5 separate regions of the Homo sapiens genome follow, and all the other regions are linked to region 3. Evidence: promoter capture Hi-C in human tissues and cell types (Jung and others, 2019). All regions are on one chromosome and are shown on one strand. Each heading gives the region's core, a stretch centred on a gene start or on the middle of the fragment in contact. The rest is flanking DNA. Distances are from core to core; before and after follow the strand shown.

Evidence for each region. Contacts are between HindIII fragments. The study calls those that stand out against the background at their distance.
Region 1: a fragment that was not itself captured here is called in contact with the fragment with the promoter of C9orf153 in region 3 in 2 of the 25 tissues and cell types used here (mesendoderm cells and thymus).
Region 2: a fragment that was not itself captured here is called in contact with the fragment with the promoter of C9orf153 in region 3 in 1 of the 25 tissues and cell types used here (mesendoderm cells).
Region 4: a contact is called between a fragment that was not itself captured here and the fragment with the promoter of C9orf153 in region 3, in 4 of the 25 tissues and cell types used here (H1 embryonic stem cells, mesenchymal stem cells, mesendoderm cells and 1 more).
Region 5: a fragment that was not itself captured here is called in contact with the fragment with the promoter of C9orf153 in region 3 in 2 of the 25 tissues and cell types used here (H1 embryonic stem cells and small bowel).

Annotation. Positions count from the first base shown.
Region 1 is chr9:86,064,737-86,067,436 of GRCh38, forward strand. The region is part of intron 3 of GOLM1 (golgi membrane protein 1); the gene reads right to left. Among named protein-coding and RNA genes, the nearest start is that of GOLM1, 33 kb to the right of the region's middle. RefSeq lists enhancers at 97-597, 598-1,598. The HindIII fragment of the contact is 3,549 bases long and covers 1-2,700 here.
Region 2 is chr9:86,083,194-86,085,893 of GRCh38, forward strand. All of the region lies in intron 1 of GOLM1 (golgi membrane protein 1), which reads right to left. Among named protein-coding and RNA genes, the nearest start is that of GOLM1, 15 kb to the right of the region's middle. The HindIII fragment of the contact is 3,123 bases long and covers 1-2,700 here.
Region 3 is chr9:86,258,407-86,261,106 of GRCh38, forward strand. C9orf153 (chromosome 9 open reading frame 153) reads right to left here and starts at 1,251. Exons shown (of 4, transcript NM_001276366.4): 1 at 1,144-1,251. It also overlaps the pseudogene RN7SKP264. The HindIII fragment of the contact is 6,872 bases long and covers 1-2,700 here.
Region 4 is chr9:86,122,134-86,124,833 of GRCh38, forward strand. No RefSeq gene overlaps it. Among named protein-coding and RNA genes, the nearest start is that of GOLM1, 24 kb to the left of the region's middle. The HindIII fragment of the contact is 3,721 bases long and covers 1-2,700 here.
Region 5 is chr9:86,045,347-86,048,046 of GRCh38, forward strand. It overlaps GOLM1 (golgi membrane protein 1), which reads right to left. Exons shown (of 10, transcript NM_016548.4): 5 at 1,124-1,226. Among named protein-coding and RNA genes, the nearest start is that of GOLM1, 53 kb to the right of the region's middle. The HindIII fragment of the contact is 3,554 bases long and covers 1-2,700 here.

The DNA of each region.
Region 1 (2,700 bases), core at 10-2,509, 190 kb before region 3:
AGTTCCCTAGGCACCCTTCCAGGTTAGACACTGTGGGGGACAGCGCTGCTGACTCCCATGGCCCTTGAGCCGCCTGCCTGGTGGGGGATGCAGCAGATCGGCTCCTCCACGTCGGTTCCACACGCCTTTTGCTGTGCTTTCCTGAACCACAAAGGCTCGGAAGCTAAAATGCACCTTCCAGAATCATTTCCAGTGGGATTCTGCCTCCAATCAGATGCACTTACTGGAGGCTAGAATGTGGAACAGAGTGAGGGTGTGGGAGGTGCAGAACAGAGAAAGTGGGGTGCCCCTGACTCTGGGCCTGCACTGCAGCAGAACCCCGCTGGTCTCACGCTCTACGCTGGGCACAGGGGCAGGTCCTGAGATAGTGCCTGAGAGCCACCCCACCTCAATGCAGGCCCTTCCCACAGCTTACAGTATCTATTTCCCTGTATCAAATCCTTCCTGCTTAAAATATCTGGGTGGTTTCTCTGTCTACACTGACCCCACTACACTCACTTCCTCATCTTTGTCCAGCACTCAATGGTAAATGTGCAATGAACACAGCCTCCCCACCACTGGGCACAGGCCAGGGCAGAACAGAACAAATACTGAACGGACTGACAGAACTGGACCCGGAAAATCGGTGAGAATAAAAACAGAAAAGCTGCTCTAGAACTCTGGATTCATCAATCACAGCGATTAAAGGTGATAAAAATCAAAGACACCACTTTTATCTGCACAAGATCGCTTTGGTTCCCCCAGAAGACAATCATTACATTCGCAGGTGCACAAGCAAAGCTGGCCCAGAGAGAAGACACCAGAACCCTCTGAGAATTGCATCTGGCCACAGGAGAATGCAGTCTGGTGGGGCCAGTGTGACGAGCAGACCTGGCAGCCCCCGGCAGCCCCACGCCGGCCACTCTCAGGTGCCGGGAGCCTTCCATGACCTCTCTGGCTCTCACTCTCTTCCCCTCTGTCTCAAGCGACAAGAATGACTGTCTCCTAAAGAAATGAAGTTAGAAATTAAATATGTTCATGTCGGGCTGGGTGCGGTGGCACACACCTGTAACCCCAGCACTTTGGGAGGCTGAGGAGGGTAGATCACGAGGTCAGAAGTTCAAGACCAGCCTGGCCAACATGGTGAAACCCCATCTCTACTAAAAATACAAAAATAAGCCAGGCGTGGTGGCACCTGCCTGTAATCCCAGCTACTCGGGAGGCTGAGGCAGGAGAATCATATGAACCCGGGAGGCGGAGGTTGCAGTGAGCCAAGATTACGCCACTGTACTCCAGCCTGGGTGACACAGTGAGACTCTGTCTCCAGAAAATAAATAAATATGTTCATGTTACAAAAGCACTCTGAAACTCTCAAGTAGGACCAATGACCAGACTTGTTAATTATTTTATTTTGAAGAGGCAAAATCTTTCAGCAAAAGTCACTCATAAACAAATGCTGTTGTATTTGAGGGAAGTGACCCCATCCCAGGCTCAGAAGACACTCAAGAACGCACTCCATGAACCAGCTCTTTACAAGAGAAAAGCACTGTAAACACCTCAGAGCCTCCTCGTACCCCAAGTTACTGTGCAAGAGGAGAAACCGGGCAGCTCCCTGAAACCACCTGGACATGGGTACAGGTCACACAGGCAAGCATGACAACAGTGAGGCTGAGCGCCCCCTGCACTTTCCCACTGCCTCTTTAAGCTTTTCTTCTTCTGGACACAAAACGATAAGCAAGTCACCAACACCTCTGTTCTTCCACTCAGCAATCTTTTTGTTTTAACTCAGTTGCTCCCCTTCAGGAAAGATACAAGAACTCTATTTTCATGACAAAGGAACTGTTGCTAAAACATTACCTTTGCACCTCTGCAATATTAATGCACATATTTTAACAAATAAGTAAAAAGTATAAATGTCAAAGTGGATGTGCAGCTGCGAGAAACCAGCCGAGCGAGAATGTTACAAGTGCAAATGCTGAAAATGAAGCTATTTGTGACTGAACTTTTGGCAAGCAAAAATGAACACAATAGCAGGAAGATGTGCCTTTCCCTTCACGAAGTGCTAGTAAGTAATTCAGGGTCTCCCAGACTCTTCCCCAAGCATTTCAGAGGGCAGGTGATGCCACCCCCAAGCCTTTGTGGCCACTACTGGCCACTGAACAGCAGTTAGCCAAGAGGGGACCCAGGATCTTTGGAAGTCTTCAGACCCAAATTATTATTATTACTATTATTATTATTATTTAGATGGAGTCTCGCTGTCACCCAGGCTAGAGTGCTTGGCATGGTCTCAGCTCACTGCAACCTCTGCCTCCCAGGTTCAAGTCATTCTCCTGCCTTAGCCTCCCAAGTAGCTGGGATTACAGGCATGCACCACCACACCCAGCTAATTTTTGTATTTTTAGTAGAGACGGCATTTCGCCATGCTGACTGAACTCCTGACCTCAAGTGATCCACCGGCCTTGGCCTCCCAAAGTGCTGGGATTACAGGTATCAGCCACCATGCCTGGCCCAGACCCAAATTATTAATCAGCCTGTGTTAACAACATAAAAGAATGAATTAAACCACTCTGTGCCCTCCTTAGGAGAGAATGCACACCTTTACAAGTGAATCTCCATTGGCTTCTACCAAAAACTAAAACCCAAGTATCTGTTTCTAGTTAGGCCCCTTAAAAACCTGTTTTATATGTACACATATATGAATCTGTAAAAAAGAAAACAGTA
Region 2 (2,700 bases), core at 76-2,575, 180 kb before region 3:
TAAAATGGCATACTATGTGAATCCAACCCAGGCACATCCTCCTCTAGGCTTTAAACCATGTCTAGATTACTTATAATACTTAGTACAATATAAATGCTATGTAATTAGCTGTTAAGCCATATGTTTAGGAACTAATCACAAAAAAGTCTATACATGTTCAGTACAGATGCAACCACAGTAGGCCTAACTAATTTTTGTTTGTTTTTCTGAGATGGGAGTCTTGCTCTGTCACCCAGGCTAGAGTGCAGTGGCACGAACTTGGCTCACTGCAACCTCCGACTCCCAGGTTCAAAGGATTCTCCCATCTCAGCCTCCTGAGTAGCTGGGATTAGAGGTGGCCACCACCACACCCAGCTAGTTTTTTTTGTACTTTTAGTAGAGACAGTGTTTCACTATGTTGGCCAGGCTGGTCTCGAATTCTCGGCCTCAAGTGATCTGCCTGCCTCGGCCTCCCAAAGTGCTGGGATTATGGGCATGAGCCACCATGCCCAGCCAGGCTTAAGTACATTTTGAACAGCTAGTTTAATCTGCAGATGTGGAACTGTACATCCATCTCTGTGTTTACGAACTCTTACCTATGTGTACAGTCCCTTATTCACAACTTTGAAATCCAAAACGGTCTCTAAAAACTCAGAGAAAGTTTTAAAAACTTTTCCAGCAACAAAACCTGAACTGAGATCAAGGTCTGATCAGAACTTATCTGAAGCTACTGATAGTCTTTATCTTCCTCCTTTCATGTGAATGCTCATACATTTCACTGCAGAAAGATGAGTGTTTGAGCATGCGGTGCTGTCCTAGATCCTCCTGGGGCTGTCACATAATATATAATAAATGCCCAATGTTATCTGAATTCTGAAAAAAGTCCTGAGTTCCAAACCTAGCTGGCCTCAAGGAGCTTGAGATGAACCAACAGCAAGCTTACTGTTGTGAGGCACTGCTCAATACAGGGGCTCGTATCAGCTTTGGGGGCATTATCATCCCCATTTTGCAGGAGATGAAATAAATCACATCTCTGTGGATCTATTTCTGGGTCAAAAATGTATGTTTTTAATATTGATAGAGCTTCTCTCTTCCAAAATAGTTGGCAAATTACAAAGGGAAAAACAGTTCTATTACATGAAGAATTCTGGCAGATGCCACCTTAGCCACATGTTCAAGCTTGGTATCCCTGATAATGAGGCACATCGACATCACATACCCCCTGATATGGTGCACTAGGAGGGCACGGCACCTCTACAGCCTCCTGCCAGGGATACATAACCTCAATCTTATCAGGAGAAAATTCAGAGGAAGTCAACGCGTCAGACATTCTATAAAACACTTGGCCAGCACGGTTAAAAAGATATTACCAAGGTTAATCTCTTAATTTTGATAAATTCTATGGTTAAGGGGAAACAGGGTAAAGGGTATATAGGAACTATATGTACTATTTTCCAACCCTTCCTTAAGTCTAAACTATATAAAAAATTATTTGATAGATCTTAACCATATCCAAAACAGGTCCAACCTGTCAAATGCATGAGCCCCTTGAACCTTCTAGTTAAATATTAATATTTTAAAAAATTCCTTCCTTTCGCTGGGCACGGAGGCTCATGCCTGTAATTCCAGCACTTTAGGAGGCTGAGGCAAGCGGATCACGAGGTCAGGAGTTCAAGACCATCCTCACCAATATGGTGAAACCCCATCTCTACTAAAAATACAAGAAGTAGCCGGGGGTGGTGCTCACCTGTAGTCCTAGCTACTCGGGAGGCTGAGGCAGAAGAATCACTTGAACCCGGGAGGCAGAGGTTGCAGTGAGTCGAGATCGCGCCACTGCACTCCAGCCTGGGGGCAACAGAGTGAGACTCTGTCCCAGAGAAACAAACAAAAAGACAGTTAGGCCTACAAAAAAAATTTTCCTTCTTTTCATATAGAGGTTTTAATCACAATCTTCTGCAGCAGGAGAATGCCTGTTTTCCGACATGGTAACATAGAAAACAAACTTTTTAATGCCTGACAATCTCATTAGTGATATTTTCAAGCACATTAATTGTGAGTACAAATGAGTGTCTTTTCATTTATTGGCCATCTGCATGTTCATTTTGGTGAAATGCCTTTTCATATTTTTTGCCCAGTTTTAAACTGGGGTGTTCATCTTATTGATTTGCTAAAGCTCTTTGTCTATTAAAGGTAAACCAATCTTTGGTCCTTCATTTGAATAATTTTTTTTCAATTTTTCATCTATTCTTTTACTTTACAGAAATTTTGCCCAAAGTTTTTGTTTTTTTTTTTTTTTTTGAAGGTTCTACTTTTTTTTTAAATTATACTTTAAGCTCTGGGATACATGTGCAAAACGTGCAGGTTTGTTACATAGGTATACCTGTGCCATGATGGTTTGCTGCACCCATCAACCCCTCACCTACATTTAGTTACTTCTCCTAATGCTTACCCCTCCCCTAGTTCCCCACCCCACCACAGGCCCTGGTGTGTGATGTTTCCCTCCCTGTGTCCATGTTTTCTCATTGTTCAGCTCCCACTTATGAATGAGAACATGTGGTGTTTGGTTTTCTGTTCCTGTGTTAGTTTGCTGAGAATGATGGTTTCCAGCTTCATCCGTGTCCCTGGCAAAGGACATGAACTCATTTATGGCTGCATAGTATTCCATGGTGTATACGTGCCATATTTTCTTTATCTAGTCTATCACTGATGGGCATTTGGGTT
Region 3 (2,700 bases), core at 1-2,500:
TTGAAGTAATTACTTTTAGAGAGCTTGTTTGGAGGTTCTAGCAGGGGAGTGCAGCTACTCATATACCCTTGCCCAAAGAACGGCCCTCCTCTGTTGGGGAAGGTTGTCCGCAGCGTCTGGAAGGACGCATGTGGACGGATGAGGGAGGAAGGAGACATCCACCTAGCCAGCCAGATCAGACAAATTAACCCTGGCCATCAGTGGGGTGACAGATGTTGCAGCCAGATCACCCTCACATCCGGAAATAATTGCTTTTAAAACGCAATATTTGAAAACCTGAATTTTCTTGGGTAAGCAACTATTATATTGCTAATTTAACGAAACTTTTTTTAAAAATATTAATATACTTAAATTTTAGAGCAATTTTAGAATTGGTTAGAAAGTACAATGTTCCCACAACCCCCCTTCTCTGCACCATACACACAGCTTTCCCCTTTTTTTTTTACTACTTATGTTTGTGTGGTACGTTTGTTATACTTGATGAGCCGGTATCAATGCATGGTTACTAACTAAAGCCCATACTTCACAGTTTACATTACGGTCCATTCTTGGTGTTGTGCATTCTATGAGATTTCACAATGTGCAATTACATATATCCACTTTGATAGTATCATACAGAGCAGTGTTTTTTTTTTTTCTTTGAGATAGGCTCTCATTCTGTCACCCCAGCTGGAGTGCAGTGGCGTGAACACAGGTCACTGCAGCCTCAACCTCCCAGGCTCAGGTGATCCTCCCATCAGCCTCCCAAGTGGCAGAGGAAAAACAAAGGACACTGGGTGTGAGGGAGAGGTGCAAAGTCAGGACCAAGCATCCATGGGAACACAGGGGAGGATGAAGGCACTGAGGTTGGGGAGAGAGAGCAGAGCTATCAGTGTTGAAGGCCGGAAAGGATGAGGGAGTCTGCAGGCTCGGCCCGATCAACTGGTTCCAGCTTCTGTGACCTGCCTGGAGGAAGATGAAACAGGCTCCTCATCCTTATTGGTAAAGATAAACCCAAATCCCATCTCACCTCCCAGCTCTGGTCTTCCCACCTTAGCCACTGCCCACCTCACTCCATCTCTCCTTGCCAAGCCTAGACTGGCTTAGTTTTCACTGCTCTGTGGTCTCACAGTGCCCCGTGGCTATGGCTGTAGATGCACTTACCACTTGTTTTACAGTTGTCTCTTCACGTGGTCATATCTGTCTTGAGTCTCTGCACTCCCAGGGCAGAGGCTGGGTCTCATTCATCCAGCAGCCCCAAGGCCCAGCCCCACTCCTAGCATGTGTCATTGCTTAGTGTTAAGTGACTGTCCATTGTGACATGTGGACATTCTCAAGGTCACATAAGCAGCTATATGATGCTAAGCGATGGGGAATTATCTTGCTGCTTGGTGGGGGGTGGGAGACGGTGGAGGATGATGGAAAAGCATTTTTAAAGAGTGAACATTGAGTAGCTGAGTAGCTACTTTTTTTTCTGCCTCAGCTTGTGGCTGGGACCCCGGGCGCACGCCACCACGCCTGGCTAATTTATGTATTTTTCTCTAGAGATGGGGTTTCGCCATGTTGCCCAGGCTGGCGTGAGTATAATTTTTTTTTTTTTTTGAGATGGAGTCTCACTCTGTCGCCCAGGCTGGAGTGCAGTGGCACGATCTCAGCTCACTGCAAGCTCCGCCTCCCGGGTTCACGCCATTCTCCTGCCTCAGCCTCTTGAGTAGCTGGGACTACAGGTGCCGTGAATGTAATTTTTAATCAGTCAAGTTTTTCCTTCTATAGACATGGGCAAAGTGCAAATAAGAAATTGAGAGAGATAATAGAAGGTACAGCTATGCTCTTTGCACCTGGCCAGATATGGGTAGAAGTGGACCAGGGGCTACCTGGCTGTGCAAATTCTCTCCATGAGCCATGCAGCCGTGCTCCAGACTCCATTCCCCACCCATGGGAGGTCCCTGTGGCAATCACTGAAAATTTTCCTGAAACAGCCATTTCCCCAGAATGCAATCTACTGGGCATTTAAATAGTCTGATTGAGTTAATAACTTGTGAACACCGTGGCAACATATCCATAACATGAAGCTTACCGTGTTAAGCCGTTTTAGGTACACAGTTCTGTGGCATTCAGTACATTCACATTGTTGTGCCACCTGCACTGCCTTCCATCTCCAGAGCTTTTTCATCTTTTCCACCTGAATCTGTGTCCATGAAATAAATTTCTCACCCCCTGTCCCCTGTCAATGGACACCTGGGTTGTTCCTACCTTTTGGCTATTGTGAATAATGCTGTTATGAACATGGATATACAAGAAAGTTAATAATTTTAAGCAGAATTTAATAAATACAGAAGATTCTTCCAATGAGAAAATATTTCAAAAGCCTGCCATTCAAAGGTGTTCTGCAGAGCAACAGCACTGGCTTCACTTGGGCCTTTGCTACTAATGCAGAATCTCAGGCTCTGCCCTGGACCTTTGTTACAGAATCTGCTTTTTTTTTTTTTTTGAGACAGTTTTGCTCTGTCACCCAGGCTGGAATGCAGTGGTGCCATCTCATGTCACTGCAACCTCCCCACCTCCCAGGTTCAAGTGATTCTCCTGCCTCAGCCTCCTGAGTAGCTGGGACTAGAGGCGCCCACCACTATGTCTGGCTAATTTTTGTGTATTTTTAGTAGAGATGGGGTTTCACCATGTTGGCCAGGCTGGTCTCGAACTCCTGACCTCAAGTGATCCACT
Region 4 (2,700 bases), core at 201-2,700, 140 kb before region 3:
TTGAGACTTTGAAGTCTAATAAATACTAATACAATAACCTATGACAATAGCCAATGATTTCTAGTGATTACCACGCATTATACATTGTGCTAAATTCTTATTTAATCCCTGTCATAACAACTCTATGATACAGATACAATTATTATTCTTGTTCTATGAATGAGTAAAGGCTTGGAAGTTAAGTGGCTTGCTCCAAATCATAAGAAGGGTAGAGGTGGTGTTGAAAACCAGGTGTCAGGCTCCAGAACCCAGACTAGTGACTGTTATGCTACACTGGACATTGTTCATATTCTGATGGGGCTAGAAATTTATGGACACCAGCAGGAGCCTTTTGTGTTGAAGCCTCCTGGTGGCTAGAAAACAGGGATTCAGGCCAGGCTATGCTTTTTAATGCAAGGCGGAGTCACCATTCAGTAGCTTAGCATTGTCACAGTGCCCCACAGGGTTAAAGAAACTGGTAACCTACAGAAAGCTTGAGCTTGTCTTGCAGGCGGACAGATAAAGAAACAGTTTGCTATAATCCCATCTGCTTACAAAGCTGGCTGAAGCAGTCTGGAACCAATATGGCTGACTGGAGTCTGCACAGCATAGACTTGGAGGCCAGATGAGTGACCTTTTTTTTTTTTTTTTGAGGCAGGGTCTCACTGTGTCACCCAGGCTGGAGTGCAGTGGCGTGATCTCAGCTCACTGCAACCTCTGCCTCCCAAGTTCGAGCGATTCTTTTGCCTCAGCCTGCCACGTAGCTGGGATTACAGGCATGTGCCACCATGCCTGGCTAATTTTTGTACTTTTTTTTACTAGAGATGGGGTTTCACTATGTTGGCCAGGCTGGCCTCAAACTCCTGACCTCAAGTGATCCTCTCACCTCAACCTCCCAGAGTGCTGGGATTACAGGCATCGAGCCACCATGCCCGGCCAATGAATGACCTTTTTATGTCACAACCAGTTCCCTCCAAATTTGCACATGCGACCCATGAAGAAGCTTGAAGAGGCAACTGCACATACCCAGGGACTTTCCAAACTCTGCTTCCTTTCAGCCAATCATTGTCCAGCTCCAAAATTCCACCTCCAAGATCTTTCTCTTAAATCTAAGACTGTAAGTCTTGTATGGGGAGACAGATTTGAGCCTGACTCTCGTCTCCTTGCTTGGCTGCCTGGCAATAATCCTTTCTCCCTACAAAAATCTGGTGCTTTGGTGTTTGGCTTTCTGTTGCATGGGCAAATGAACCCATTTCTATCCGGTGGCAGTATTCTTTTCACGTCTGCCAAAAGGTGGTGTTTTCATGAGGTAGGAAAGAAACGTTTTGTTAGATCCATCTCTTACCTTGAATGTAAAACTTGCATACGATGAAATGCACAGTCATTCATTAGATTTTGACAAATGCATTTGCCTTGTAACCATAAAAGCCTACCAAGACACAGAATATTACCATCACCCTAGAAAATTGCCTCATGCAACCTTTCCAGTCAATCCCCACCTATCCCAGAAAAGCAACAGTTCTGATTTTTTTCACTTGGGTTGGTTTTAAATTTTACAGATTTACTTGCATTTATGTTAAGTTCTCCAGGAGCCTTTACATCACTTGTTATATCACTATCAAACTCCTTCAAAGTGCTGTGGATGCTTGGGATCAAGGGAGAAGAACGGGGAGGGAAATTTGCATTTTAAAGTCTTTTTTTTTTTAAAAAAAAACTCTATAGGGGCTGGTTATTCTGAGTATTAAACTAATTTTGCACAGAATAAAAGAGTCACCCCCAAGCAAATAATTAAAAAGAATAGCCAACCAAGTCAGCTACAGTTAATTAATGGCAGTTTTTGAAAGACCACCAGACAGTGTAGACTCCAGGCAAGCAGAGAAGCAGGTGGCTTTTCCTCCCTTGGGACTGCCAGAGGGCTCCTGTGCATCAGGACTAGCCTCTTACTCCCTCATGCCCTGTGGTGGTCATGACAGCCCTTACCAGGTAGGAGGGGCAGAAGTCCTCATTTCTCATAAGGGAAAACTGGTTTAGGTGGCATAAGTGGCAGCCTCCTGCTCACACAGCAAGTGATCCACACAGCAGCCTTTCTGTCTGTCTGTGGCTGCTCTTTCAGACTAAGGTTTTAATGACTGATAGTAGCTTGCACCAGACATTCTCCTCTGGTAAATCCCAACACAGACGTGTGTCCAAGGAAAGTCCTGCCATTTACCTCTTGGAGTAGAGATCTGTCAACGTATACTTGCATTAAGCGCTTTGAGATAGAGATGTATGAATTTGGATAAGTTGCTCTTCTCTGGGAAGGGATCAAAAGCATCTGGCTCATAATATTAATAATGTCAATTATTATTAATTGACTAACCATATTAACTAACAAAAATGACAATAATAACAAAAGCCACATCAGGCTGGGAGCAGTGGCTCACACCTATAACTCTAGCACTTTGGGAGGCTGAGGCAAGAGGATTGCTTGAGCCCAGGAGTTCAGGATCAGCCTGAGCAACATAGTAAGCCCTCGTCCCTACAAAAATAAAAATAAAAGTTAAAAATTAATCAGGTGTGGTGGTGCACACCTGTAGTACCAGCTGCTTGGGAGGATGAGATGGGAGGATTGCTTGAGCCCGGGGGATCGAGGCTGCAGTGAGCTGTGATTGCTCCACTGCACTCCAGTCTGGGTGGCAAAGTGAGATCCTGTCTCAAAAAAAAAAAAGAAAAAGAAAAAAT
Region 5 (2,700 bases), core at 180-2,679, 210 kb before region 3:
TTTCAAAAAATAAAATAAAATAAAATGTTTGTGACTAAGAATATGGCCGGGCACAGTGGCTCACACCTGTAATCCCAGCACTTTGGGAGGCCAAGGCAGGTGGATCACCTGAGGTCAGGCGTTCAAGAACAGCCTGGCTGACATGGTGAAACTCCATCTCGACTAAAAAAATACAAACATTAGCTGGGTGTGGTGGTGGGCACCTGTAGTCCCAGCTACTCAGGAGGCTGAGGCATGAGAACTGCTTGAACTTGGGAGATGGAGGTTGCAGTGAGCTGAGATTGTGCCACTGCACTCCAGCATGGGGGACAGCGAGACTCCGCTCAAGAAAAAAAAAAAAAAAGTATATACACACACACACACACACACGTACATAACGCAAGTAAAAAAATGATTAAATTTTTTTGATGATGACTGCAATTAAGTAAACATTCATGTGAACTTGGGCATGGACTGGAGAGAGGTAAGTCAAAGGGAAAAGGACAGTCATGAGGGCTGGGCCATGGGTGGTTGGTTCTCTCTGAATCCCAAACTTCCCACACGTTAGCTATATTGTTTTTATGAGGAAAAAATAAACACAACTTTATCCTCTGGCTTGCAAACTGGCTTTTACTATCTTCCTGCGGGGCTTAGCTCACTTTTTAATAGTTTAATATTGCTTGGTTTTGATTATCAAAGTATTCCATTCTCACTGTAAAAATTGGGAAAATCACTGAAAAGTCTGAAGAAAACAATGTCCACAATGTGATCGCCAGGCAATAAACTATTACTATATCAATATTTTGCCAAAATGTCTTTTAGTCAACGAATTTGATTTAGCTCACGCATGAGCACCTATGAAACACATTTTTAAAGCTTTATGTTGTTGACTTAACCAGTACACCTGTGCCTTACAGAGTTTTAAGTTACATTTTAAGGCATGCTGAGAAATTCATTTCCTGCTGAGAGCTGGCCTCCTTGTGCATTTGTGTAGGACATGAATCCTAGAGGGGCCCGTGCCTTTCTCAGAGTCCCGCACGGAGCAGAAGGTGCATGCTCTATCGGAGGTTACATCTCAGCTTAATCCCCGCCTCCCAGGTGCCGTGCACCCTGCACTGTGGCACGCGCTCTGAGGTGTACTCACAGGTCGTAGGAGAACTTCCTCTCCAGGTTGGTCTGGTTCTTCTGAAACTGGAGGACATCCTGCTGCAGCCTGCCGTAATTCCTCTGCAGGGTCTTTAACTGGTCTACACCAAGGGGACAAGGAATTGCACAGGTCACCGGCACAGCTGTCATGCCATTCAGCCAAAATATGACAGAGGCAGACTCACACATCAGACCATAAAGGGCAAGGACAGATTGGGACAAAGGAGGGGAGAGAGAAAAAGCTGAAAACACAGTCCCTCCCCAGAGTCACTAAACCCCAGCTGTGGAGAGTGCTCTGCAAGAGCAGCAAGCCGAAAGAAGCTGCGTCTTGATCCTTTCCCAAATGTCTCTCTTAAATCTCCTTTTTGGCCGCTAGCCTTTAATGTATATTGGAAGCTTCTGTGTGCCTGTCTCTTTTGTAGACATCATAAGCCCCGAGCTGTCCCCAAAGGTCACACACACCACCCTGCCCTCATCCCTGGCCGACTCATCCTTCCATCTGTAAAACACTGATTTTTGATGTTTGGTCAGATAAGCAGCCACTCCTGCTGGACACCCTGCCCTCGGCCACCAGGCTACCTGCCAGCATCCTCCCTCGTCATTTATTCACAGCCAAGCCACTCTCCAAGGCCCTGTGCCCATTTAATCAACCAACACTCTCATCAGGGAAAGAGCGGCTTTCTTTAAGGAAATTAATCAGCCCCATCCCTGCTGCCCTGATGACTTGGCTCATAAAAGAGCCCTAGCGGACAAAGGGCCAAGCTGGGGCAGAGGGGAAGGCAGCCACCAGGCGGATACCACAGTGGGCGGCAGCAGCAGCCAGGCCCGGACACAGCCAGGACAGACAGGCCAGGACAGATGCAGGCATCCCCAAGGTGGGCCCTCACAACACTAGACCTACAATAGTCTCAGGTGGAAAATAAAGTGAAATAAAATGGAAGCGTTCCGTGAATTACGATACACACAACACGGACTCATCCCAAAAGCACACACGTGACACCCTCAAGAGACAAAGCTGTGGCGAAGAGAACAGCTGGGTGGGTGCTGGGCCTAGACAGAGAGGGGACTGGTGACTTCGCAGGGCATGGGTGGGGGGTCCTGGAGCGGTGGGCAGCTGCCATGTTGACTGCAGTGGTGATCTGCGAGACTATTTGTCAGGACTTATCCAACTGTACCCACGAGGGGTAAATGTTCTTGTATATAAACGATACTTTAATATGCGTAACTGAACACACCCCACAATCCAACTAGGCAAGAGATAACGGAATACAACTCAGCAGTCAAAGAAATGAATGACTTGTATCACAGTGACATGGACGAATCGCAAATAACTATGCTGAGAGAGAAAAGGCAGGCAAAAAATGATAACAGATGGTCTGATTCCATCTGTATGCATGTACCCAATTATTATTATTTTTTAATTATACTTTAAATTCTAGGGTACATGTGCACAACGTGCAGGTTTGTTACATATGTATACATGTGCCATGTTGGTGTGCTGCACCCATTAACTCGTCATTTACAATAGGTAATTTCTCTTAAAGCCATCCCTCCCCCCTCCCCCCACCCCACGAC